Regions from separate parts of the Homo sapiens genome. Here region 2 is linked to region 1. The links are contacts of gene promoters, found by promoter capture Hi-C in blood cells and fetal thymus (Javierre and others, 2016). All regions are on one chromosome and are shown on one strand. The core of a region is centred on a gene start or on the middle of the fragment in contact, and the rest is flanking DNA. Distances in the headings are between cores, read along the strand shown. Region 1 holds the start of ICAM2 (intercellular adhesion molecule 2). Region 2 overlaps SCN4A (sodium voltage-gated channel alpha subunit 4).

Region 1 (2,700 bases), core at 189-2,688:
GAGGCTGAGGTGGGCGGATCATTTGAGGTCAGGAGTTCGAGACCAGCCTGGCCGACATGATGAAACCCCATCTCTACTAAAAATACAAAAATTAGCCAGTCGGCACGTGCCTGTAATCCCAGCTACTCAAGAGGCTGAGGCAAGGCCAGGCACGGTGGCTCATGCCTGTAATCCCAACACTTTGGGAGGCCAAGGCGGGCGGATTGCCTGAGCTCAAGAGTTTGAGACCAGCCTAGGCAACATGGTGAAACCCCATCTCTGCTAAAATACAAAAGAAATTAACCAGGCGTGGTGGCGTGCACCTGTAGTCCCAGCTACTCAGGAGGCTGAGGCAGGAGAATTGCTTGAACTCGGGAGGCGGAGGTTGCAGTGAGCCGAGATCACACCACTGCACTCCAGCACTCCAGCCTGGGCGACAGAGTGAGGCTCCATCTCTACAAAACAAACAAACAAACAAACAACAACAACAACAACAAAAACACTGAGGCAAGAGAATCGTTTGAACCTGGGAGGCAGAGGTTACAGTGAGCCAAGATCACACCACTGCACTCCAGCCTGGGCAACAGAGCGAAACTCCATCTCAAAAAAAAAAAAAGAAAGAAAAGAGAAAGAGAGAGCTCCAGAGATGGATGGTGGTGATGGTTGCAGAACAATGTGAATGTACTTAGTGCCCCAAACTGTACACTTAAACATAATTAAAATGGGCCTAGCACGGTGGCTCATTCCCAGCATTTGGGAGGCTGAGGTGGGAGGATTGCTTGAGCTCAAGAGTTTGAGACCAGGCTGGGCAACATAAGCAACACTCTGTCTCTACAAAAACTACAGAAATTAGCCAAGCCTGGTGGCTGCACACTTGTAGTCCCAGTCACTTGGGAAGTTGAGGAGGGAGGGTCACTTGAGCTCAGGGGTCAGAGGTTGCCACGAACTGTGATTGTGCCACTGCACTCCAGCCTAGGTGACAAAAGCAAGACTCTGTCTTAAAAACAACACAACAAAAAATTGGCTGGACGCAGTGGCTCTTGCCTGTAATCCTAGCACTTTAGGAGGCCGAGGAAGGCAGTTCACTTGAGGTCAGGAGTTCGAGACCAGCCTGGCCAACATGGTGAAACCCTGTCTCTACTAAAAATACAAAAATTAGCCAGGCGTGGTGGCAGGTGCCTGTGGTCCCGGTTACTCTGCGGGCTGAGGCACAAGAATCACGTGAACTCGGGAGGCAGAGGTTGCAGTGAGCCGAGATCACACCACTGCACTCCAGCCTGGGTGACTGAGACTCAGTCTAAAAAAAAAAAAAAAATTGAAATGGTAAATTCTGTTGTGTACGTTTTACCACAATTAAAAAAAAAAAAAGCGGAATGGGAGTGGAGCTAAATGAGGCTAGTTTAGGGTGGGAACCGGGGCACAGGAAGCACGTCACTTCTGGTGGGGAGTGGGGGGAGGGAGAAGACTGAATAAGCCGTGAACTGGGCAGCTGTGACACGCGCACCTTGTCACCTTGTCACCAATTTCCTGCCCGGGATCCCAGAGCTACCCTTCTTGGAGCCCACAGGGGTAAGGTTGAGCTTCTCACTTTCCCTCCAATGAAGCGTGGCAGCATGGGAAGGATTTTGGCAGTGTCGAGGTCTGAGTTTTAGTCCGTTCCCCTCTCTGGGTCTCAGTTTCTCGCTGGTAAGTGCAGGGGTTGGGGAATCCCCAGCGCTCCTGTGGCTCGACATTCTGCACTCTGTGAAGCTCCTGCCCTGCCCTGCTGGGTCTCTGAGCTCACGCACTTGCCCTGGCGCTCCTTTCCTGATTTGTCTCCCCTCTCTCCTTCCTCTGCTCTGCCATCTCGGTGGCCGATGTAGAAATGTGGGGCTGCCTCCTTATTTAGGGGCCCACGTGGGCTGTGATCTGGACCATCTGAGCTGATGCAGAGGGGAAGGGACAGTCCCTGTTCTCCCCGGCAGGCGTGGTGGGTTCATAATGAATCTCAGTCACTCACTTCCTACCTGCCTCGGTTCGAGGGGGTCTTTCCTAACCCATGGCTCACATTCCCATGAAGCCTCTTCTTTCTAGGCACGTAGAAAGGCCCTTTTTCCCTTTTATTATTTTTGTAAAATTTACTAGGTAACGCATAAAAAGCTTATGTAACATACATATACATCATACTGCACAGTAATATACCAAACACACCTGAAGCTGCCACTCAGCACAAGGATGGAGTATCACCAAACTGCAAACACCACTTATCTGCTTTTTTTTTTTTTTTTTTTTTTTGAGACAGAGTTTTCATTCTTGTCGCCCAGGCTGGAGTGCAGTGGCACAATCTTGGCTCACCACAACCTTCGCCTGCTGGGTTCAAGCGATTCTCTTGTCTCAGCCTCCCAAGTAGCTGGGACTACAGGTGCGCATGCCACCATGCCCAGCTAATTTTTGTGTTTTTGGTAGCGACAGGGTTTCACTATGTTGGCCAGGAGAGTCTCGATCTCTTGACCTCATGATCCGCCCACCTCGGCCTCCCAAAATGCTGGGATTACAGGCGTGAGCCACCACACCTGGCCACCACTTGTCCACTTTTATGCTACTTGCCTCCCACCCACAGGTAGCCACCCTCTGGAATTTTGTGTTTATTGTTCTCTTATTTTTAAGTGCTTTATTACATATGCATCTCTATTTATTTATTTATTTATTTATTTACTGAGATGGGGTCACACTATATTTCCC
Region 2 (2,700 bases), core at 61-2,560, 69 kb after region 1:
GTGCACTCCAGTCTCTGCTGCCACCCAAACCCACAGTATTGCATGTGATTGATCTGCTCTCTGTCTCTGCTGGTCTGTGAGCTCCCTGAGGCCATTCATGCAGTGACGGGGGCTCAGGAAATGTCTATCCACTGGAAAATAAAGTGGGTGGGGGTGCTGGGGGGGAGCAGCAGTAGCCTCCTAAGTCTTTCCGTAGGGATGTGGGACAAGAACCAGAATAGATGGAGTCGGAAACCCCAAGAGGAGAAAAGAGGGTAAATAGTAGGTCAGATGTCCCTTCCAGAGTAGCAGGGGCCAAGCTTCTGCACTCCAGGAGTGCGGGGTCTATAAAGTCCCACTTAACAGAGGTGGAGAAGAAGGCACAAAAGATAAAGGTTCCCAGTAAGTCCTGGAAGCTCGGCGACTTGAGCCCAGTTCTTTGTTCCGCATCCTCCAGAAGTGGAGGTAAAGGACAGTCATGGGCCAGGCACCGTGGTGATGCCTCTAATCCCAGCACTTTGGGAGGCCGAGGCAGGCGGATCACTTGAGGTCAGGAGTTTGAGACCAGCCTGGGCAACATGTTGAAACCCCGTCTCTACAAAAAATACAAAGATTAGCTGGGCATGGTGGCACTTGAACTTGGGAGGTGGAGGTTGCCGTGAGCCGAAATCGCGCCACAGCACTCCAGCCCGGAGTCTGGAGGCAACAGAGGGAGACTCCTCCATCTCGAAAAAAAAAAAAGAAAAAAAAGGACAGTCATGGAGAGAGTTCCTGTCCCCCAGCAGGCCTCCCTAAACCCTGCCTCTGCCCTGGGTAGCAGAGTCCTCTCAGAAGCCCAAGCCTCAGTTTCCCCATCTGCAGAAGGGATAATAACCATCACCTCCATGAGCAGTTGTGAACACCTCTTAGGTGGCGTTCTTTTAAATGCCCAACATGTGGTAGTTTGGATCTGTAGACCGAGGACCCCTGTGCTGGCTGAAGGTGGCACCCTCTGGGTCCCGGGGACTGATGTGAGGCTCCCCCTGACCCCATGCCCCAGGTCCTGAACCTGTTCCTGGCTCTGCTGCTGAGCTCCTTCAGCGCCGACAGTCTGGCAGCCTCGGATGAGGATGGCGAGATGAACAACCTGCAGATTGCCATCGGGCGCATCAAGTTGGGCATCGGCTTTGCCAAGGCCTTCCTCCTGGGGCTGCTGCATGGCAAGATCCTGAGCCCCAAGGACATCATGCTCAGCCTCGGGGAGGCTGACGGGGCCGGGGAGGCTGGAGAGGCGGGGGAGACTGCCCCCGAGGATGAGAAGAAGGAGCCGCCCGAGGAGGACCTGAAGAAGGACAATCACATCCTGAACCACATGGGCCTGGCTGACGGCCCCCCATCCAGCCTCGAGCTGGACCACCTTAACTTCATCAACAACCCCTACCTGACCATACAGGTGCCCATCGCCTCCGAGGAGTCCGACCTGGAGATGCCCACCGAGGAGGAAACCGACACTTTCTCAGAGCCTGAGGATAGCAAGGTGAGCCGGGGCTGGGGCTCAGACAGACCCGGCTTCAAATTCTCCTGTGACCTGGAGCAAGCCCTAAGTCCTCTCTGAGCCTCAGTTTCTCCAGCTGTAAAATGGGGGTGGTGCCCTATGGCATTGTTGCAAGCATTATGTGAGACGCTGTATGTAAAGCATGCAGTCCGCGCCCTGTGAGTGGTGGCAGTCACTATCGTTATTGATGTGGTTATTATGATCAACCCTGTCTGTCCAGAAACCCTGATTCCCTCGGACCAGAACACCTGGGCCCCTCTCACCAGCAGGTGGTGCCCTTGGACATGCTGCTTTTACCTGGGCACCGCAGCTCCAGGACCAGGACCTGAGAGGCCTCTCTTACATATTCTCCTCTGGGTTTGAGGCCCCTTGCCCAGTCCTCACACTTATCCTCTATCTCTGTTTAGACCCCACCTGGGTCTGCTCCCAACCTCCCAGTGTGGGCCAAAGTGCCAGATCCAGGCAGGGGATTCAGGAGAGGAGCTAGGGGCCAACGGGAGTTGAGGACAAGGAGGACAGAAGCCTCAGGCAGGAGCCCTGACCCCTCAGCCATGCAGGGGGTGTGCTGCTGGGCTCAGATGCCCCTCCCCACCCCTCCACTGCGAGGTCGAGGAAGGGACAGGAACGCAGCGGTGGTAACCCCCAGCAGCTGAGGCTGAGGCTGAGGCTGACCCTGCCTGGGTCTTGAGCCCCCTTCCCCACTGTCCAGCTCTGGCAGGGAAAGGACTCATACAGGAGCTAGGACGAGGGCCCCTGCCCACCCCTGCACCATCAGCCTGAGCCTAATGAACTTTGCCCTGAAAGCTTTTGACTCCTTATTCCCCCCAAATATGCTGGCTTACCAGGAAGCGAGTGCCTGTGAGCTATAAATACCCAGGCAACTGTGGCACAGACCTCGGTATGAGGCACTCAGGTGGCGGGGGAGCTGGAGAGCACCAAAGTCCCAGGCTCCCCGGGGCCGGGGCCGGGGCCTGGGGACTTGTTCAAGGAGGGCGAGCACAACTCCAAGGGAGATTTAGGGAGTTGAGTGCACAATCGGGGCAAGCAACTCAGTGGATGCCCTGGCTGACCTAACACTCTGTGCCTCAGTTTCCCTTTTAGTCTAATGAAAACAAGGACCCCCACCCCGGCCATGGTGGTTTTCTGGTCACCACTCTGGATACAGAGCTGCCCCCCAAGTTGCCCTC

Evidence for each region. Contacts are between HindIII fragments. The CHiCAGO score rates a contact against its expected background, and 5 or more counts as called.
Region 2: a fragment that was not itself captured here is called in contact with the fragment with the promoter of ICAM2 in region 1 in 8 of 17 cell types (naive B cells, total B cells, naive CD4 T cells and 5 more); the score reaches 11.8 in naive B cells.

What each region holds. Positions count from the first base shown.
Region 1 is chr17:64,019,371-64,022,070 of GRCh38, reverse strand. It overlaps ICAM2 (intercellular adhesion molecule 2), which reads left to right and starts at 1,438. Exons shown (of 5, transcript NM_001099789.2): 1 at 1,438-1,548. RefSeq lists enhancers at 999-1,048, 1,269-1,358, 1,104-1,604, 1,699-1,818. The HindIII fragment of the contact is 3,360 bases long and covers 1-2,120 here.
Region 2 is chr17:63,950,219-63,952,918 of GRCh38, reverse strand. SCN4A (sodium voltage-gated channel alpha subunit 4) reads left to right here. Exons shown (of 24, transcript NM_000334.4): 14 at 1,019-1,495. Among named protein-coding and RNA genes, the nearest start is that of CD79B, 19 kb to the right of the region's middle. RefSeq lists a silencer at 1,636-1,930, an enhancer at 1,898-1,957 and an insulator at 1,067-2,700. The HindIII fragment of the contact is 2,018 bases long and covers 302-2,319 here.